Regions from separate parts of the Homo sapiens genome. Here region 2 is linked to region 1. The links are contacts of gene promoters, found by promoter capture Hi-C in human tissues and cell types (Jung and others, 2019). All regions are on one chromosome and are shown on one strand. The core of a region is centred on a gene start or on the middle of the fragment in contact, and the rest is flanking DNA. Distances in the headings are between cores, read along the strand shown. Region 1 overlaps CBFB (core-binding factor subunit beta). Region 2 holds the start of CES3 (carboxylesterase 3).

Region 1 (5,266 bases), core at 563-3,062:
CGAGACTCTGTCTCAAACAAACAAACAAAAAACACCATTCAGTTGTGTAATTGGTGAATTAAGATGCTGACTTTCGTTTCAATTTTTAACTTCATGTAATATCTTATTTTAATATTTTATAAATAGCTTTTAAAAAAGTGAGTATAGTCTCACTGAGAATATGTGTCAGGAAGAACCAAAAAGCTCAATTCTCTCCCCTGGTCAACTGCCTGAATTTTCTTTTTTTCTTCATATCCAATGTTTTCATACAGAATATTCAGGATGGATATTTTAACCTTGGCCAATACATTTAAGGAAAATAAAAAATGTTTTAGGGGTTTTTTTTGTTATTTGTTTGTTTGGAGATGGAGCCTTGCTCTGTCACCCAGGCTGGAGTGCCGTGGTGCGATCTCTGCTCACTGCAACCTTTGCCTCCCAGGCCCAAGCAACTCTCCCACCCCAGCCTCTCTCAAGTAGCTGGAACCAGAGGCATGCGACACCACGCCTGACCAATTTCTGCATTTTTATTTTTATTTTTTTTGAGATGGAATTTTGTTCCCAGGCTGGAGTGCAGTGGCGCGATCTTGGCTCACTGCACCCTCTGCCTCCCAGGTTCAAGTGATTCTCCTGCCTTAGCCTCCCGAGCAGCTGGGACCAGAGGCACCCACCACCATGCCCAGCCAATTTTTGCATTCCTAGTAGAGACGGGGCTTCACCATGCTGGCCACGCTAGTCTTGAACTCCTAACCCCAGGCGATCCACCCGCCCTGGCCTTCCAGAGCACTGGGACCAAAGGCACGAGCCACGGCACCTGACCCAGTAAAAAAATGGCCAAGAAATGTTCTGGATAGCAAAGGGATGGATAGAAACTCAGGACTAAAAAGCTGGTGTGAATAAATATCCTAAAAAAAAAATTTAAAGGGTTCTCCCAAATGGCTCATTACTTAGAACACTGTTCTGCAAACAGGGCCACACGATTATTAGAAACTATCATTGTTATTATATGGAACAAACTTTGAACATCTATGATATGGGCAGATTTGTTTATTTGAAAACATCTACATTCTTCTAATGTAAATGTCGAAGTCACAAGTTTCTAGGCCATCCTTTTGTTTTAATCTGAAGATTAACCTGTCTTTACATCTGAAGTTTTAAAACACAAAAAGGCTCAGTACTGACTGCATACATGGGTAAAAGGTTTTTCATCCACAAAAACAACCTGCCAACCATCCCCAGACTCAGCCCTTTCCCTCTTAGGTACAGCCTGCATTAGAGTCCTGAAAGCACAGCAATACTGCCAAGAGGCACGTTTTATTTTTTTAAATAGTTTCCACACATGGCATTGAAGACATTTCAAATGGTATTTATTTATTGAGACAGAGTCTTGCTGTGTTGCCCAGGCTACAGTGCAGTGGCATGATCTCAGCTTATGCCTGGCTAATTTTTTTTTTTTTTTAGTAGAGACGGGGTTTCACTATGTTGGCCAAGCTGGTCTTGAACTCCTGACCTTGTGATCTGCCTGCCTTGGCCTCCTAAAGTGCTGGGATTACAGGTATGAGCTACTGCGCCCGGCCCTTCAAATGTTATTTAAAATTCTTAGTTCCTAAACACACATCAATTTGAGGAGGCCCAGCTTAAACTGAAAAGCTTATAACAGATAATACTTTCCAACTGTTCACGTGCATACTTTCATAAAAAAAGGAACAATAATTAAAGTCTACCATATCACTATTATACTTTAGCTTGTCTGTAGCTTCCAATCCTCTGTACAAAACTAAGCATCAAAGAATAATATTGAAGAAACAAAGTCTCTGCACCTGAAGGTAAACAGCATTTTTATGCTGTTAAAAAGAAATTACAAACGTTTTCTTCCCTGTAAGATGAGGATCACAAAAGTATCAGTGCATGTATGTCTGCATCAATTAGAACACTACCTGCAAGGGGGCATGAGGGAACTTTTTGAAGCAATGGTGAACTTTGGTGGTGGTTATACTACTGAATACACAGTTGTCACAGACTTGTACACTTAAAATAGGTGAACTGTACTACATGTAAATTATACCTCAATAATGCTGATTGAAAAACTACAAGTGAAAATGGGAAATAGTAAAACTAGGGCATAGCAGTGCTACAAAGAAATTAACATCTTCAGACAACAACATTTCAATAGTCTTTATCCTGGCAGCATTTGAATTAACCATTAAAAAAAAATGATGGGTACATGCCTGTAATCCCAGCACTTTGAGAGGCCAAGGCGAGAGGATTGCTTGAGTCCAGGAGTTTGAGACCAGCCTGGGCAACATGGTGAGACCCCCATATCTACAAAAAAATTACCTGGGCATGGTGGCGCGTGCCTGTGGTTCCAGCTACTTGGGAGGCTGAGGTGGGAGGATCGCTTGAGCCCAGGAGGCAGAGGTTGCAGTAAGCCAAGATCACACCACTGCACTCCAGCCTGGGTGACAGAGAGATATCTAGTTTCAAAAACAAACAAACAACAACAAAAAAGGCCAGGCACAGTGGCTCAGAGCGCCTATAATCCCAACACTTTGGGAGGCCAAGACAGGCGGATCACCTGAGGTCAGGAGTTTGAGACCAGCCTGGCCAAAATGGTGAAACCCCATCTCCAATAAAAACACAAAAATTAGCCAGGTGTGGTGGCGGGTGCCTGTAATCCCAGCTACTTGGGAGGCTGAGGCAGGAGAATCGCTTGAACCTGGGAGGCGGAGGTTGCAGTGAGCCAAGATTACATCACTGCACTCCAGCCTGGATGACAGAGCAAGACACTGTCTCAAAAAAAAAAAAAAAAATGTAGAAAGTAGAAGGAAGGAGGGGAAGAGTGAAGGATGCTCTTCTCAGACATATTATTTCTGCCTTCTCTCACTTGGAATATGTAATTCAGGAAAGGTCATGAAAGAGAATTTCACCTTTACACTAAAATGGAAATAATGCAATCCAAAAGAAGAGAAAACGGGACTTCACAATCTTCAAGTGCTTCAGAGGTGCATTTACCATGTATGCAGATTCACGTACTCTAACTGGAAGGTACTATGACATACTAATTTTAAAACATTTTAATTTTTTTTTTTTCAGACAGAGTCTTGCTCTGTTGCCCAGGCTGGAGTGTTGTGGTACAATCTCAGCCCACTGCAACCTCCGCCTCCCGGGTTCAAGCAATTCTCCTGCCTCAGTCTCCCAAGTAGCTGGGATTACAGGCACATGCCAGCATACCTGGCTAATTTTTTGTATTTTTAGTAGAGGTGGGGTTTCATCACGTTGGCCAGTCTGGTCTCGAACTCCTGACCTCAGGTGATCCACCTGCCTCGGCCTCCCAAAGTGCTGGGATTACAGGCATGAACCACCCCACCTAGCCAAAACATTTTAATTTTTTCAGAAAGTCGACTTCCTCTCTTAGATTGAAAAATAACTAAAATAACTAAAATAAAAACTTTTCTTTAAAAATACAAACGCTCTGCCAGCTACAAAGGTGTCAAATATATATATATATATAAGCTTGCAGTTACCAGTTCTAAATTTTATGATTCCGTTATTATTAGAGTATTATAGTTTATCTAAAGCATATTTTTAAAAACCAGATTTCAATACACTAAACTGTCAATAACTAAGTGCTGTCAATTCATATTTTAGTCGAACTGAAATACTTAAAATCCAGATGTGACAAGGTATTTGTAAAGTTGTCTAATTTCTCTTGAAGAAAATCACACTCCAAAGCTTTACCATAGAGATCTTTTATTTGGAATGACTGGGCTATCTACAGAGAAGGAACTTCTTGAGCTTAAATAGGGATTTCTCAAAGCTAACATCAAGAAGTCCTGTAAACTCTGCCAAATTGTGGATGGTATATAAACAAACACAATATGTATTTTGGGACAAAGATCCTGCAGGCAAGTGCGTAAATGGTACCAGAAGAAGCAGAATCATAGACCTTTATTAGAAAAGGCCATTTAAAATAAAATTCTGTCCTCACTCATTAAATCCAATCTTGTTAGATTTTGCTTTATTTTATGCTCATAAAAATAAATTAAAAGACTTTTAAGTATAAAGTCCAGAAAGAAAAAAAATACAACTTATCAAAATTTTTAAAAGTAGCTACTCTAATGACATATACTTAATAAATACTTCTCGATGTCTGACATTAATGTATTTGACTATCAATTAAAATCATAAGCTATAAACAAGAATGTAACAACCATAGAAAAGTTTAACCTCTCTTTTTCTGAGGTCAATGTGGTAAAAACGAGATAGCATATTCAATTTCCACAGAAAAAAATGAACAGTAGCACTGTAAAGTTCATTTTTTTCCTTTTATGAAATGATTTTCATACCCCTTATCTTTAAAGTCATAAACTGGGATCGCAAAGTAAGTACATCCAATCATTATTTCAAAATCCCAATGAAGCTTTATGAGACACAGAATACATGTAAAAACCATTAATCTGACCACTCAAGACTAATAATTTATGGTCAACCATAATCACTTGCATTTATTTGAAATAAAAGTAATTGGAAATAAGTCCTAAGAGGAAAGATCAAAGGAACTGGAGTTGCCTGGTCTACACAATTTTAACTTAAGAATGATTTAAATTCTGATTAGTTGCTTTTCCCTTGTCTTTTGACAGCTAGATTAAAGAATTAAGAACATTTTGGCTGCCAGTGTTTGTAACACACCAGGATGGAACACTTGGGAAAGATGTAGTGTTCCAACATTGTTCAACTACCTGACGTGAAGCTTACCTAAGGCACACTGTAGCACAAACACTCTATCAATCAGTTAGCTATAATCTCACCCTACAGAACCATCAAATTGCCTAACTGTAGACAGGGGTTTACAATTTAAAAGGCATTTTCACATATTCTGGTACTACATTTAATTCTCACATGAGGCACATGAATAGGGCAGACATTCTGATCCTCATTTACATGTTAAGGAAAATAGTTATGACTGTCTTGACTCAAATCTAGAGCTCTTTCTATTATACTGTTATTAGTTTAAATCATTTCTGAGAAAGATCCTTATTAAGAGCCAATGTAGACAGCTCACCAGGTACCTGGGTATAAAAGTTTCAAATATATTTGAAGGATTATAAAATTCTGTGCTCTGACTTGGTCATATGTAAGGTATATACTTATAATCAGTCACCCGTTAACAGACCTTCCTTATAGAAGCCCTTGATTTGAAAATATTCTATAGCCACATAAGCAACAGAATGAATAAAAGGACTAATTTCTATGAGCCCATTTTCTTAAATCATAAAACTGTATTTCAAAT
Region 2 (5,535 bases), core at 2,500-4,999, 86 kb after region 1:
TCCACCATGCTGCCTGGGGCAGAGAGGGGTGCTCCTGAAGACCCCACCCTGGAGAAAGGGCCAACAATGATATGCTTCAGGGTGGCTTCCTTCAGGAAGCCCTCCCTGAGTGCCAATATGCTGGAATGCAGCAGTTGTTTCCTCTGATGCTCCTTCGTCTTATTGGGCTTCTCTTTGCTAACAGGGAGCTCCCTGCCAGCAAACCCCGCTACTCTGAGACCCCAGGGCCAGCACAGAGTGGGGTATGGGAGGCACACATAGAGTAAGAGAGGGAAGGAAATACAGACCTGAGCTAGGGGCCAAGGGTGAGAGTCGATGATCCCTGGGGTGGTGATGACCCCACTCTGTGTGATGGCTCTGTGGAACAGCCCTGCAGCCACTGGGGACAGGACCTGGGTGCATTGGAGAGAGGAGGTGGCTGTCAGAGGAGGGCAGAGGAGCTGGGAGTTCTGAGACCACCGGAGCCCTCCTGGCCACCATCACTAGCCCCCTATAGTGACTTACCAGGCCAGAGATGATGCTCCCACCGGCAGATCCACCAAAGACAGTGACACAGTTGAGGTCACCCCCGAAGGGGGCGATGTTTTCTTGCACCCAGCGCAAAGCAGCTACCACATCTAGGAAGCCCTGGTTGCCAGGTGCATGCTCATCTCCAGTGCTGGGGGCAGTGTTGGGGCAACGGTTAGTTCAGCCTGGCTCCTCGCCAGCCTCTGCAGGTTTGCTTTGAATTAGCCACCAGGATGCCAGACCCTTCTCTGCTCCCCAGGTCTGGCCTGTCTGGGAGCCGTGGTTGGCATCTCCACAGCCTGTTGCTCTTTGTCCCATATCCTGCTGGAACCTGGGCTTCAGCCCAGGAATCAATGCCCTCTGCCCAAGGGACCAAGTTCACTGTATAATTCTGGCTTTGGCTGGACCCCTCTCCCAGGGTGGAGGCTTGGGGGGTGCCCTTCTCTGCCTCAGACATCATGGGTAAGGGGCCCTCCCTTCAGGTTCCGGACCCCAACCTAGATCCCCAGTTGCTCTGGTGAGCTGGCCTCTCCCCGGTGCAGGCAGTGCTCTGGCCATGCCTGTCGTCTCACCTGAAGAAGCCAAGGACCCCAAGGCGGTACTGGACTGTAACCACGACCACATCCCCATAGGCAGCCAGAGCTGATCCATCGTAGGAGGTGGCAGCGCCAGTTATCAGAGCGCCTCCATGGACCCATACCATGACCTGCAGAGGTGGCCATGGGGCACTGACCCCCAAGCTCCTGAGACCTTAGCTGCCCACCTGCCAGCCCAGGCAGTCTCAGGACCGCTAGGGTGCTTTGGAAACAGGGACGGGGAGGGGACAGGTAGGCATAGTGGAGCTGGATCAGGTGGACAGGGCCCTCTGGGGTGCCTACCGGCCTACCGGACCCTGCGGGGACCTCAGCTGGGCTATAGACGTTGAGGACCAGGCAGTCCTCTGAAACGGAGAAGATCTGCTGTTTTCCGTTGAGGACAAATCTGCTGCTGTTCATGCTCTCCACGTCTTGTAGGCACCTGTGGCCAAGGGTGGGCCTGAGGTCCAGCTGTTCAGCCCCACAAGCCCCAGCAGCAGGATTCTCCTGCAACCTGCCTGTTTGCCCGCCTCCACCAGCACTACTCACATTGGGGGCGCAGTGCTGGCATCCCGCACACCCTCCCAGGGCTGTGCTGGGTGTGGGGCTGAGAACCGGTCAGGGCCCAGTGGCGGCTGGGCAAATGGAATGCCCAGAAAGACATTCACAAGGCGGTCTGTGCCCTTCACGCCCACCTGCCGGCCTCGCACACGACCCAGGGTGGTGTCTACTTCAGGCTGAGCAACTTCGGGCCCTGAGGGAAGGACAGAAAGGCCACGGGGTGAGTTTGCAGCCCCCATGAGGGGAAGGAGTGAAAGACAAACCCTCAGGCTGTTCTCAGTACTTACCACACAGCATCTTGGTAACCTTCCCAGCAAGCCGGTGAGCCTGGTCTTAGGTTGACGCCCAACTTCCTCCTCCCTGCCTGCCTGAGAGTCACTACCACTCCACTCCAGGCCAGACCGGGCCTGCCACTAGGGCCTTGTGCCTTGGGGCCAGCCACTTGCCCATTTCTTTGTTTTTATTTTTTGTGTTTGAGACAGGGTCTAGCTCTGTTGACCAAGCTGGAGTGCAGTGGCACGATCTTGGCTCACTGCAACCTCTGACTCCCGAGTTCAAGCGACTCCAGGGCCTCAGCCTCCCAAGTAGCTGGGATTACAGGTGTGCACCACAACGCCTGGCTAATTTTTGTATTTTTAGTAGAGACGGGGTTTCATCATGTTGGCCAGGCTGGTCTCGAACTCCTGACCTCAAGTAATCCATCCACCTGGGGCTCCCAAAGTGCTGGCATTACAGGCATGAGCCATCATGCCCAGCCCTGAATTATTTTTTAAAAAGTAGAGATGGGGTCTCATTATGTTGCCCAGGCTGGTCTCAAACCCCTGGGCTCAAGCAATCCTTTCACCTCAGCCTCCCCAAGTGCTGGGACGACAGGTGTGAGCCATCATGCCCAGCTGGCACCATGTTTCTTGTACGGCCTGCAGAACTGTGGCCTAACTAAACTTCTTTTCTTTGTGAATTACCCAGCTTCCTGTATTCTTTTACAACAACACAAACAGACTAAGACTGGAGGACTGCCTCTCCCAGGCTAGACAATTCCTAGAGATAGGAGGCAGCTCTCTGGGGAGGTGGAATTGGCAGGCATCTCTCTAGGGAGCAAAGGCAAACCAGTCCAGAGCCATACCCAACCACCTCCTTTATACAGCTCTCAGCTCCTGGCTGCCATCCACCAGCCATAATCACCACAGAGCCGGGTACCAGGAAGCTGGCTGGGGACAGCCCCTTTCCCCAGAGCCTGCTGCCAATCGTAAACCTCTTTAGCCTGCCTTGCCTATTCCTTCCCGTGGCAACCGTGTCAAAGGGGCTTGCCCACATTTTCCCCCTGCTCCCTCTGCCTCCTGGCTGATGCCACCTGGTGCTTCCCTCTGTGGCCCTATGTGGCATGGCCTGCTTCCTGTTCACAGGGAACTACGAGCAAACTCCTTCCCTCATGATAGTCATTTGCATATCTGCTTGTCTTACTATACTTCATTAAAACAAATCTCAGGCCCCCTTAAGACATAAAGACAGGCCAGGTGCGGTGGCTCACGCCTGTAATCCCAGCACTTTGGGAGGCCGAGGCAGGTGGGTCACCTGAGGTCAGGAGTTTGAGACCAGCCTGGCCCACATGGTGAAACCCCATCTCTCCTAAAAATACAAAAATTAGCCGGCCATGGTGGCAGGTGCCTGTAATCCCAGCTACTCAGGAGGCTGAGGCAGGAGAATCGCTTGAATCCAGGAGGCGGAGGTTGCAGTGAGCCGAGATCGCGCCATTGCACTCCAGCCTGGGTAACAAGAGCAAAACTCTGTCTCAAACAACAACAACAAAAACAACGAAACAAATACAGCAAGAGCAGAGCGCCTGCCCAGAGAGAATGCACAACCCCTGGTCTGCCTCCAAACAGGACTGTTTCCTGAGCGGTCGGCCCACTGCTCCCTGTCCCTGTCTCACTCTTGACTCCTCCACACCAAGTACCTCTGCAGGCCCAGCAGGTGTGTCTTACCAGTGGCTGTGGCAGGGCATGCCAGGAGCAGACAGACCACCCCGACCAGGACCCCGGACTCCACTCTCACTGCTCTCTCCATTCTCCTTACAACTGGTTCGACAGAAGCTTCAGAAGGTGGAATAAGATCCCTGCCCTTCAGCACCACCGATCTCTAAAGGGCTGTGATATAGAACCTCCAAGGACAGCGCCACCTAGCTGGTGGCCAGCCCCATGCTCAGGCTGAGCCAGAGGCAGGGCTAGATGAGTGCCCTGCAGAGGCCTGGTTGATATGACAGCCCTCCCCGTCCCACTGTTTTCAAATTCCAGCTCTCCTGACTTGGTGATCTCCATGAAATCCTGTGCGTTCATCCCAAGGTGACCACATCACTGACCCTAGGAAGTGGTGGCCAGTGACCCTGGGGTGCCACTCCGAGTGGGCAACCCAGCCTGAGGTGAGGGCTTGATATGGTTTGGATGTTTTGTCCCCTCCAAATCTCATGTTAAAATGTGAAAGAAAATAAAACAGTGATGATAATAGGACCCACCTCATAGCATTGAAGTGAGGGTACATGTTTGCATGTGTGTGTGAGTGTGTGTGTGAAAACATGAGGCTTGGGACTGGGTGTGGTGGCTCATACCTGTAATCCCAGTGCTTTAGGAGGATGGGGCAGGAAGATCGCTTGAGCCCAGGAGTTTGAGACCAGCCTGGGCAACACAGGGAGACACGTCTCTAGAAAAAATAAAAAAAATTAGCCAGGTGTGATGGTGCATGCCTGTGGTCCCAGCTACTTGGGAGGCTGAGGTGAGAGGATCACTTGAGCCCAGGTTGTCGAGACTGCAGTGAGCTGTGATAATGCCACTGCACTCTAGGCTAGGCTATAGAGCAAGACAAAGAAAGAGAGAAAGAGAGAGAGAGAAGAAAGAAAGGAGAGAGAGAAAGAAGGAGAGAGAGAAAGGAGAGAGAGAAAGAAAAAGAGACAGAAAAAGAGAAAGAAACAAAAAGAGAAAAAAGAAAAATAGAGAGAGAAAGAAAGAGAGAGAGGGAGGGAGGGAGGGAGGGGAGGGGAGAGGAGGGGAGGGGCTTGGAACCAGAACTCATGGAAGCCTGAGGAGAGGAGAGTCTGGGAACCAGAACTGATGGAAGCCTGCTCTTGACCGGGGCGGGGATCTGCAGGGCATCTGTCTCTCTGCTGGCTTAGGAGGCTCCCACCCCCAGGGAGGGCAGGACTCACTTCTGGGCCTCAGTGTCAGGAACATGGCTGGCTGGGAGTAGGCGGTGGGAGGATGGATAGATATTTGCTGGCCCAGTGAAAGACAGAGTGAGGGTTGTGCCTAAACACGATGCCAGATCCTCTTCCGGGGCTCCAGCTGGCACCCAGAGCTGAAGAGACAGGCTTTAGGATGAAACTTCCCTTCTGCCAAAAATAACTAGTGCCAGCTGGGCATTGTGGCACAAGTCTGTAGTCCCAGCTACTCAGGCGGCTGAGGCAGGAGGATTGCTTCAGCCCAGGAGCTTGAGGCCAGCTTGGGCAACATAGCAAGACTCTCTCTCTAAAAAAAAATTCATAAAAAACCATTGCAGCTTCCTGAATCTTCCCCGGCAGCCTGGGGTGGGGTCTCCTTTTCAGAGCTGCCTCCAGACTTTGTCCTTCCCTATTCCACCTTCCTCTTCTTGTTGCCATCACAGCCCTGCCACCCCCCAGCCACACCCCCTTGATCATTTGCTGAAGATTTTAGCACCTGGCTCTGGCATGCTTTCCACCTTCAACACTCACATCAAGGCACCTGGATCTCTTCTCCGCCCACAATCTTACCTTCCATCTTCGGGTATAGATGCTGCCAGGAGAGCTCTCCATCTGCTCCCAAGGCCACGTTTCCCAACTCCCTGCAGCTAGGTCTGCCTTCCCTCCTAGCATTGTGGATGGGCC

Evidence for each region. The method cuts DNA at HindIII sites, captures the fragments that hold promoters and counts their contacts. A contact is called where the count stands out against the background at its distance.
Region 2: a contact is called between the fragment with the promoter of CES3 here and a fragment that was not itself captured in region 1, in 5 of the 25 tissues and cell types used here (IMR-90 fibroblasts, dorsolateral prefrontal cortex, hippocampus and 2 more).

What each region holds. Positions count from the first base shown.
Region 1 is chr16:67,043,317-67,048,582 of GRCh38, reverse strand. All of the region lies in intron 3 of CBFB (core-binding factor subunit beta), which reads right to left. Among named protein-coding and RNA genes, the nearest start is that of CBFB, 17 kb to the right of the region's middle. The HindIII fragment of the contact is 7,078 bases long and covers 1-5,266 here.
Region 2 is chr16:66,959,480-66,965,014 of GRCh38, reverse strand. CES3 (carboxylesterase 3) reads right to left here and starts at 3,749. Exons shown (of 13, transcript NM_024922.6): 1 at 3,626-3,749; 2 at 1,632-1,836; 3 at 1,386-1,524; 4 at 1,080-1,213; 5 at 505-658; 6 at 288-392. The coding sequence starts at 3,707. RefSeq lists enhancers at 360-1,277, 3,558-3,767, 3,552-4,053, 3,858-4,107. The HindIII fragment of the contact is 25,956 bases long and covers 61-5,535 here.